Linked DNA regions of Homo sapiens: regions 2 and 3 are each linked to region 1. Evidence: promoter capture Hi-C in 16 types of primary human blood cells and fetal thymus (Javierre and others, 2016). All regions are on one chromosome and are shown on one strand. The core of a region is centred on a gene start or on the middle of the fragment in contact, and the rest is flanking DNA. Distances in the headings are between cores, read along the strand shown.

What was found. Contacts are between HindIII fragments. The CHiCAGO score rates a contact against its expected background, and 5 or more counts as called.
Region 2: a contact is called between a fragment that was not itself captured here and the fragment with the promoter of VSIG4 in region 1, in 6 of 17 cell types (endothelial precursors, M2 macrophages, fetal thymus and 3 more). The highest score is 8.4, in endothelial precursors.
Region 3: a contact is called between a fragment that was not itself captured here and the fragment with the promoter of VSIG4 in region 1, in 4 of 17 cell types (activated CD4 T cells, non-activated CD4 T cells, monocytes and 1 more). The highest score is 7.3, in activated CD4 T cells.

The regions. Positions count from the first base shown.
Region 1 is chrX:66,038,314-66,041,591 of GRCh38, forward strand. It overlaps VSIG4 (V-set and immunoglobulin domain containing 4), which reads right to left and starts at 1,767. Exons shown (of 8, transcript NM_007268.3): 1 at 1,631-1,767. The coding sequence starts at 1,685. The HindIII fragment of the contact is 1,000 bases long and covers 1,264-2,263 here.
Region 2 is chrX:66,730,696-66,733,973 of GRCh38, forward strand. No RefSeq gene overlaps it. Among named protein-coding and RNA genes, the nearest start is that of EDA2R, 93 kb to the left of the region's middle. The HindIII fragment of the contact is 1,399 bases long and covers 1,136-2,534 here.
Region 3 is chrX:65,521,994-65,525,271 of GRCh38, forward strand. LAS1L (LAS1 like ribosome biogenesis factor) reads right to left here. Exons shown (of 14, transcript NM_031206.7): 8 at 2,972-3,057; 9 at 2,571-2,621; 10 at 2,063-2,269; 11 at 1,567-1,714. Among named protein-coding and RNA genes, the nearest start is that of LAS1L, 11 kb to the right of the region's middle. The HindIII fragment of the contact is 4,278 bases long and covers 1-3,278 here.

The DNA.
Region 1 (3,278 bases), core at 517-3,016:
GAACAATGAGGTCCAGGGAGAGGGAAGGTATTATTTGCAGCTCAGCATAACCTGAGCCTGAGGTCTATAGTATAAGATCCTGTGTACAAATGGAAGGCCTGCTTCCAGGTCTGGAAAAGCTCATAGGCTGGGGAAGGAACAAGACACATGAGTGCTCTCTCTCTCTCTCACACACACACACACACACACACACATGAATGCACACACACATACACACACACAAACAAAGGATTTAAATTTAACATTTCTAAAATGCTCCCTCAAGCCCCAGGCTTAAGCCCTAGCTCAAACCAACAGACTTGGAGAAGGTAGAGAGATACATTATAAAACCTGCTAGAGAATGGAAATGTGGTAGTTATAGAAAGAAAAATGTTTTTTCAGGAGCATTAACTCTGCCACTAATGCTCTTTGGCTTGGGGGCAAATTATTTTTTCTCTTGGTTGACTTAATTCAGAGTCTTTTCTAACTCTGAGGTTCCAGAGTGTGATGGGTCACAGAGCCCCAGGATAGGGTAACCTAATCAGAGTCAGCTACGGAAAGCTGGATTCTTTCTGACCTAACAAGTGACACCAAGCTAACACCTATCCAGCCTTTTTCTCTAGGGATGATAGGGAAGCAGCAAAATCCCCCTTTACCCTATATTGGATCTCACTTAGCTGTTACCCAGGTTGAGTTTCCTGAAAATCCATCTCACTTCTCAGGAGTGTAGATGAGGATAGAGCTTCCCAAGCTCCAAGGAAATAATGCCACTATGGAATAGTCCATCCTCCTTTGGGATTTGTATCCAGCCCATAAATAGCCCAGACAAATTGAGCCATGTCTATAGGGAAGTGAGTTATCCCAGGAATGGGTAAGAAACCAAGTCCTATGAAGACCAGTTGAAAAAGCTGGGGCTGTTCAGCTTGGAGGAGAGAAGAGTCAAGGAGACATAGTACTTGTCCTCAGGGCTTTGAAGGGCTATCACAGGGCAAGGAAGCATCTATGTTCTGTGTAGCCCCAAGAAGCAAAGCTGGGGTTTTTGGATGGAAGTCAGAGGGAACTGGATTTAGTTCAACACAAATAAGAACTTTCTAACAGTTGGAGCTGCTCCTGGATGGACTAGATGGTCTGGGGAGGTAGTGAACAGTGAAATCTCAATCACTACTGGATGTTTCTGAGCACTTATTCATGACAATGAAGGGTGGTATAGGTTACTTCTATAGTCCTATCCAACTCTTAGAAAACACTCCTTCTTCGGGGGCTGTATATTTTAACAGAGACCAAAGCTTGGAAGCAGAGTGGTTAAGTCCAATTGTAGAATTTTAGATGAGAGACAGCAGATGGAGGAAAGATTCGGATGTCATTGGGAACCTTCTTGATGCCCCTGAGATACAAGCCCTAGAAAATAATGCAGATGTTTTCCAAGAGAAAAATCCTTTTTCAATTTCTGCCCAAACTTGCCTTCTGGCTTCTTCAGCAGCCTTCAACTACATCCATCCGTTTTGCTCAAGGCTGAGAGAGCCTGCAGAGTTTGGCTGAGAAGACTCACCTGCCCAGTAGGAATAGGCTTTCCATAGTAGACATTAAACACCAACCCTCTAGCCTTTTGCCTAAGCCAGCAATGGCAGCCAGGCCCCCCTTTCTGCCTTACCATAAGTGTCCACTGTTAGGTGCCCCAGGAGTAGCAGGCCCAGTAAGATCCCCATCACAGCCAGAGCTACTTCTGTCCTTTCTTCCAGCCTCCTGCTACCAAAGAGGCTCAAACTTCTGGTGGCCGCCAGCGTCTGTGACTGCTTACTTCCCTTCCTTCCCTATATCTCTCACTCAAACTCCTAGTCCCATCACACATTCCCCTTCCTTCCCTATTTCAGTACAGGTCATGTGGGGTGCCCCCCTTCCCCCACCTCCTTGGGGTTGGAGGTTCCAGGATGAGTGAAGCAATTCTTCCCCCTGCTAGGGTATTGACTTGACTTTCCTTGGAGCCAATGGGGCTTTCTGGTCTTTGATCTCCTAGGCTGTATTTATTTTGAGTCTCCTCCACAAGATTCAGAGGTTGTGGGGGCGACCTTTGGGATGAGTCTTCCCACTCCAGTATGGCGGTGTTTTCCTTTGTGGTGAGCCCAGGGAGAAGAGATCAACTTTGCTGACCTACCCAATTTTCATTAGTTGTACTGTTAACCCTTGCCTGTGCAGCCTATGCAACTGGACAGGGTGTTGGGCCCGGGGTGCTTTTGGGCTTAAGAGTACAAGAGTTTAGTGTATTAAAGGGCTTTCTACACATCAAAGCTTGAATAATTGACAAGCCAATGGATAAGGCTGTTATGGGTGAATATGCCTCATATCTCATATTGGGGAAGCTCTTTGAATCACTTTCTACAATGGCTCCACCTCTCTGATGGTAAGGGAGAATTCATTTTCATTAATGTTCTCCATGCTTTTTCATAAGGAATTTATTTTTTACTTCTTTTAAGGGAAATTTAAGCCTAGCCTCCAGTGCAGCAGCCCATTAGTGGTATGCTGTATTAGGTTGAATTTTTCATTGACTTCCAATTGGTACAGGCCCTTGACCTACAAGAGAGTAATATTATGCCTCCTAGCAAAGCTCAACTGCTCCAGAAATTGCTCCTCTTCACAGGCCCCAGAGTGACTGTAATTTCATCAGCAGTCTAACTAGGTTTGGCACTGCGCTTTGTCTACTAAGCTTTGAAACAATAAGCACTTTCAAAAGCACAAATACATCCCAAAAATTCATACTGCACTGTAAGTAACAGCTAAGCTTAGTTTACTCTTTGATTGGAGGGATAGGAAAGGACTTGGTCAGGGGAGGGAGGAGTTTGTGCAGAGATGGGGAGTGGGAATATAAAGAAACATACTTGCCAAGGGGTGGCTGCATGCAGATGATTTGGAGCTGTGCACGGGCTAAGGAGACATTCCAGCATTTCAGGACACATTATTACATGGAATTCTATCAATCACCTCTGCCTCTAGGGCCCAATCCCCCTTGGCTGGTTGTTCCTTGTTTTTTGAGTACTGCACTCATTCCATCTCACTGGAAATTTCAGCCATTTTTTCCCACCGGGTCCTCACTCAGGAAACCCTGAACTTCACAGAACCCTCCTTTGATATTTTTCAACCAACACCCTATCACCACTACACCACCACCACCGCACAGACACACACACACACACACACACACACACGCACACACATACACACACACACACCCCTCCCCTTCCCCGCTAAAAAGCCCACTGGACAGATGTAAATTTCTGCCTGGCCAGGTGATTGTGTGTTTTGTG
Region 2 (3,278 bases), core at 585-3,084, 690 kb after region 1:
CTCCTTGTAGATTCTGGATATTAGTCTTTTGTTGGATGCCTAATTTGCAAATATGTTATTCTATTCTGTAGGTTGTCTGTTTACTTCATTGATTAAGAAATTCCACAAAGTTTTGCTCTTCGTCTCTCTTTATGTACTTGAATAGACAACATCTATTAGCAGAGTGTGTGTCAGAGACAGCCCTTAGCACACTTATAAGGTTTATCTCATTGACTCTTTTCAGCATCTCTCTGAAGCATGTACTATTATTATCTCTATTTTACAGGTGAGAAAACCGATGGACAGAGAAATGAGGTAACTTGACTAACATCACACAGCTGGCAAAGAGCAGAGCTTCAATAGGAACTCAGGCAGTCTAATTCCAGAGGCCATACTCTTTTAGCCCATACATTTGTGTTGTTTTGCTTTGTGACTAAAAGCCAGACTCTAGATCTAGTTTTTCTGCTGAGTTCAAATTCCAGCATTACCACTTTCTAGTTGTGTGACTTTGGGCAAGTGACTTCACCTCTCTAAGCCTCAGTTTCCTCATTTGTGAAATGGAAGAACAATAGTAAGGCTGATGTGAAGATTAAATGAGTTATTTATGTAAAATACTTACAATAATGTTTGAAACCAGGTAAGTAGTATGTAAATGTCTCAGTTCCCCAGGCAAGATTGGTGGGAAATCAAAAGTCAGTCTTTTTTTTTTTTTTTTTCCTTGCAGCTTTCTAACATTACACAGAACTGCCAGGCTTAAACCAGGTTTAAGTAGTCCAGAAAAAAAAAATGGGTTATGTAGTCTTCAGCAGTCCCTCATGGCTGCCTTCTGGTGCTCACTGGTCATGTCCCAAGTGGTCCATTTCAAGGCTTTGTAATCCTTCAGTGCCAAGTCTCTAACAGGAGCTCACAATCTGATTTATTATGCTATACTGCCCCCTTCTGTGGATTATAGGTAATCAGTAACTATAGGGCTTACAGGCTGAGTTTCTCACATGCTTAATAAATGGTAGTGATTTTGTTTTATTAGCTTTAACGCTCACTCCTATTAGCGTGACTCCCAACCCTTAATGTTACCATGAGCAAACTAAAACAGGGAATAAGGGCATCTATCAAGGGCACATAAATAGTAAGTGATGGAAGTCTGGATTTGAATTCAAGCTTTGATAATTCTCACATTCCCAACTTTTAATTTTTATTGTATGTCTCTTTTTTAAATATTTCTGAATATGATCACATATAAGGACTGTCTATTTCCTACTTTAAAATCTTTTTCTCCTTTAGGAAGTCTTCCTGTATTCTGGCATATTATATTGTACTTCTATGTTGACTATTTTTAAGTTGTTTATGGAGGCGTGTATTATCCTCTATTTTTAGGTAGCTGAATAAAAAGAATGAGTTTTCCAATTCCTTGTTGAATTGGTTTCTAGAAAAAATGCCATTTAGTGAGAATATACTAAAATTCAAGAAACTCAGTTAAAAGGAGACTGGAGAAGAGCACTGAGATAAGTAACTCATGGACCCTGGTAAAGTATACTTGATAATAATAGGTGTTTAAAAAAGTCAACATCTCAAGAGCATGATTTATTTCTTATAAAAGATTACATCCCTCACAATCTAGCTCAATGCCTTATTTATAGTAAGAACTCAGGAAATATTTGTTGAATTGCCATTTAGAGTTTGCTGATAGGCTTCAGTCAATTTCAATCAAGTAATAATATATTTCCTCTGGATAGCTAGAAATGAAAATATTCTAATAAGAAAGATTTGCAGGTCATGAAAAATTTAACCTTTTACATGCAGACTTGTATCTTCATATTTTTAATAATAAGAATCACTGCAAAGTTAATAAGACAGTTCTGGGTTTTAATGTAGTAATAATAAATATGTAATGTTATTTGATTTTTCTTATTAAAGTGAGAGTCTTCTATAAGAATAATCATGAGGCATTGATAGAGGTGGAGTCAAAGATGTACATATAGCTTTGTGTGTCACAGCACTGATCAAATAATGAGTCTGAAGCTCATTATTATCATATATCATAACTTATTTTATTTATTAATGGTTTTGCCTCTCTTCTCTAAAAATTGAGAGAGATGTGGTTAAGTATAATATGGAAGACAGTAGCATAATTGTTTTCTATTTTGTAAACTTAATGGGTAAATCAAAAGCCAAGCAGCTGTTTAAAAAGTAATAATTTTATCTTTTAGAAAATCCTTATCAATATCAGATGTAAAGCAGTGTAATGAGAAGACCACTAAACTGGGAGTCAAAAGCATTTTATTCTGGTCCCAGCTCAACTTCTTGTTTGTGTGATCCCCTACTAGTTCCATGCTCTCCTCTCTGACCTTCAGTTTTCTCGTTTGTAAAATGAAGATTACAATGCCCATAAGGTTTTAGTGAGATTCAGTGAAACTGCTTTGTCAAAGTGTTGTACAAATTAGAAATAGTGTTATAGTAAGGCATCGGTAATGTTTTCTTTTTCTTGTCAAGAGTCTTCTAATGCTATCAGTTATTTTAACATCTGTAACATAAGACACCACATCAGTATCATTGTAAGCTTTAATCTACACTTGAATCACACCGGTATTAAGTCAATTGATGATATACAAAGGAGCAGTATCCATCATCACTCCAAAAAATTGTGCTGGTACATATTGGAGAGTGCTTGCTCTTAGCGTCCAAATTTATTTTTGTAAAAAAAAAAAAAACAGACATGCCTATAAACACAACACTAAGTTAAAAATTTCTATACGCCCTAGGTTTAATATGAAAGTCTACAGCCCTTTGCCTGTTTACTTCACTACAATGTAACAGCCTTTTTTCATTTCATAAATATCCTCTCATCTAATTCCACTCTAAATAACAGTGAGTTAGAACTATAATAATTCAAAACAGATTGCAAAGATAAATGCTTGAGAGGATGGAAACCCCATTCTCCATGATGTGCTTAGTTCACACTGTATGCCTGTATCAAAATATCACATTGCCCCATAAATACAAACACCTATTATGTACCCACAAAAATTTAAACAAATACTTAAGAAAACAGATTGCAAAACTAACAGGTGTACACAAGGAATACTAACATTACTATGTAACCATCATACCTTCTGATATCCACAGTATCCTTCCTATACTAACAATTTTGTACAGCTGTCTCTATAATACAAATAATTATAGAAATACAAGTTAATTGTACTTTAACACTGCAATCATGTAGAAAAGAATAAGTCTTTTGGATATTTTGTAGTTCTTTTTTCCTCCAGATGGAGATAGTCTGGTAAGACTCCTTGCTTCAT
Region 3 (3,278 bases), core at 308-2,807, 520 kb before region 1:
GATTTTGCTTGTGTTGCTGTTATTGTTGTTTTGTTTAAGATGAGAAAAGCTCAGGCACGTTCCTAGGTTGAAGAGCAAGAGCCAGCAGAGCAAGGTAGAGGCTGGGGTGAGGCCCCAGCGATGCTGGCAGAGGTGGCTCCAGAGCACAGGTGGAGGAGCAGGCTTTGAGGTGGGGCAAGGCCACCTCATCCTGAGACTGGCGAGAAGGTTGAGTGCAGCCGCAGATCAGTTCACGAGGGCTGGACCTCAGGTCGAGGGGGCCCTGCCGGATGCCTCCATGTGCTCGAGGAAGCTAGGGTGAAATGGGAGAGGGGGAGGGGCTTGAGGTGAGCGGTAAGGGTTTAGAATAGTGAGGAAATGGGAGAGAAAGTGGTCAGAAAACAAGTAAAAGTTCAGACAAGCAGAACTGAGGCCTCGCCCGAGATTAAAAATCATACCTCTGCAGTGGCAGCAATCCGCAGGGCTATGTGGTTTTCTCCAGCAGAGCTCAGCTACCCGGGCTGAGGAGCAGGGGAAGCAGAATGGGGAGGATCAATTCCAGCTCAGGGGTTTGCAAGTCAGATATGGCCAAAGGATGGGCAAAGCTGAAGGTGCTGATGATGAGTGGCCGAACTGAGCAACCACAGACAGGATAGAGAGGAAGCAAGGTCAAGGGATGCAGGAAATGGAGGGATGGAGATCTGGATGCAGGCAAAGAGCAGATGTCATGGGATGCAAGGGTGAGAACTAGAAGGACGAGAAGTGGTGGTCACCGAGTGGGATGCTGGGATGTGAGCTTTCAGAGGTGGAATAGCTCCGAATGATGGAAATGGGTTGCTGAGTGTAGTGGAGAATGAAAGTCACTGGAGTTGAGGAGCTGTAGAGTGTCAGATGAGTCATCCAAATGAAACAGATATTGCTCAAGAAAGCAAGAAGGGAATCAGGCGCTAAAGGCTTCCATGATTATGAGGGAAGTGGCTCAGGGTCAGGAAATGACAGAGAAAAGGAAAGGGAGACAACCACAGGTATTTACCAGTGCAATATTCAGTTTGACCATAGAACCCAGGGTGGATAGGGTAAAGGAGACTCACAGGAGGTATGGCTACCATGGTAAGTTGGGCCAGAATCAGAAAGATCTTTGAATGTCAGGCTAAGAAGCCTAGACTTAACAGGAAGGCAATAGGGAGCAACTGAAGGTTGCTAAGCAACTATCAGAGGTATACTTTGGAAAGATAATAGAGGAAACAGCACTGGGCTTGGAGTCAGAAGACCTGGGTTCAATAATAAACAGCAGCTACCATTTATTGTGCACTTACTCTGTGCAGGCCACTGTGCTAAGCACTCTAGGGGGATTGTCTTATCCATTCCCACACTGGACTCAGTTCAGTCAGGTCTTAAGCTGTATGATCTTAGGTAAGAAAACCCTACCCCTCCCCTCTCTGGACTCAGTTGTCCCATCTGTCAGTGGGAGTGAGACTGGGCTAGACTGTCCCCAAAGGGCCCTTCTAACTCAGTCATTCTAGGGCAGTGTGGCCCTGAGGCTTGAAGGGCCTCACCCTCTTACCGGATGGAATTCAAGAGACTTACATCCGAAGGAGTTGGGGGCTGGCCCAGCAAGGTGAGCCCAAGCAGGACTCAACCATCCGGGGCCAGTCAAGGGAGGCGGAGCAGTTGAACAGCCTCCAGCCCCTTCTTGCTTCCCACTGGCCTGCAGAAAATCGGCGAGCATTCCGTCCTGAGAGAGAAGAGAGGATCTAAGGAGAAGGAAGCAGTGAGCCCCCCACCCAACATTTCACCTCAGAAAGTTTGGCTCTGTCCCTCCCCATCCCCCCAGACTCCCCACCTATACCTCCCAACTGCTCAAAGAATTCAGGGCACTTTGCCCCAGCCCAGTTTAGTTGGCTCTGAGAAGAAAAGGAAAAGGGAGATTTGTCCACTGCTGCCGTGGGGCCCTCTTGGGCAAACCTAAACCTTTAACACGGGAGGTGTTTGCCTGGTGCTTCTTAGCAGAGAGCTGAGGACAGTGGCAGAGGCTCCTGCCTGGGCTGCCTTAGGCCCTAGGGCTAGGGCTAGTCTCCCTCACCAGTCTTGGTGTTGGCCACGATCAGTTCAACGGTCCATCTGAGGATGTAGGTAGGCCGGATCCCGCTGATCCCCAAGGCTGGCAGTTCAGAGAGCATCCTCTCCAATAGGGCCTGCGTGAAGTTCTGGGAGTGCAGGCCCCTGAGCAGGGGCTGCCAGAACTGAGAGAACGGCTTTGGCACCAGGACGTCATTCAAGTCCACGTTTTCTGGTTTGTAAGGGACACCCATTTGGGGGGGCAATAGGAGAGAGAGAGCAGGAGAGCACGAAAGAGAGAGCAAGAGACAGCAAGAGAAAGGAAGTGAGAGTGAGAGCAAGAGAATGTGTGCGCGCGCATGAGCCAAGCCCCCCACCAACAACAGAGTTGCCACCGCAGAACAAAGGAAAGAGGAGAGCAGAACAGTGGGGAGAGAGAAACCAGTTAGTATCTGGCAACCAACAACTGACTCAAAATAAAGTATAAACAAAACAGAGATCTGGTTCTAGCTTCAGCTTTGTCAATAACTCACTGTGTGACTTTGGGTCAGTACCTTCCCCTCTCTGGACCTCAGTCTGACCATCTGTAACATGAGGATGTTGGACTAGATGACCTCACAAGGCCCCTCCAATTCTGCTGTTCTAGCTCTCTAGCTAGCAGCTAAATCACAACGAACATGGCACAATAATGTCATTAAGACTCCCCGACCCCACCCCATCCCACCCCACCCCATTCCAGAGCACTTAAGGGCAGCCCCACAACTGTCAGTGGGGCTACCTGTTCTGCTCAGCCAGGAAGGCTGAGGGACTTTCAGAGGCCATGGAATGGCAGGAAACAGCCTTCACACCCCAACCCAGGGCCCCCCAGCCCACCCCAGCTGTTTCCACCCAGGAATCAGAACCCTAAGGGTGCAGTGAGCCCCCAGAACCCTACCTTCATATTCTATCTGCAAAGCTGCCAACTGTTCAAATGTGGGGACAAGGAAGCCATCATCCAGAAAAGCATCCAGCACAGCCTCCCTGGAACAAGAGGACACTAGTTTAGCAAAGTGATGCTGGCAGAAGACCCTCTCCTACTCCTCCACCCACCTCCAAAGCAGCTAATGCCTCTGGCTCAAGTGGCTGAAGCAGCATAGGGAGGAGGGGTGGTGGGTGGGTAGGAGTGGGGAGGAAGGGAGTTGACAATTGGATCTTAGGCTTCAGCCTCCTCAGGCAGGGGCTGGTTAGAGGCTGGGATCAGT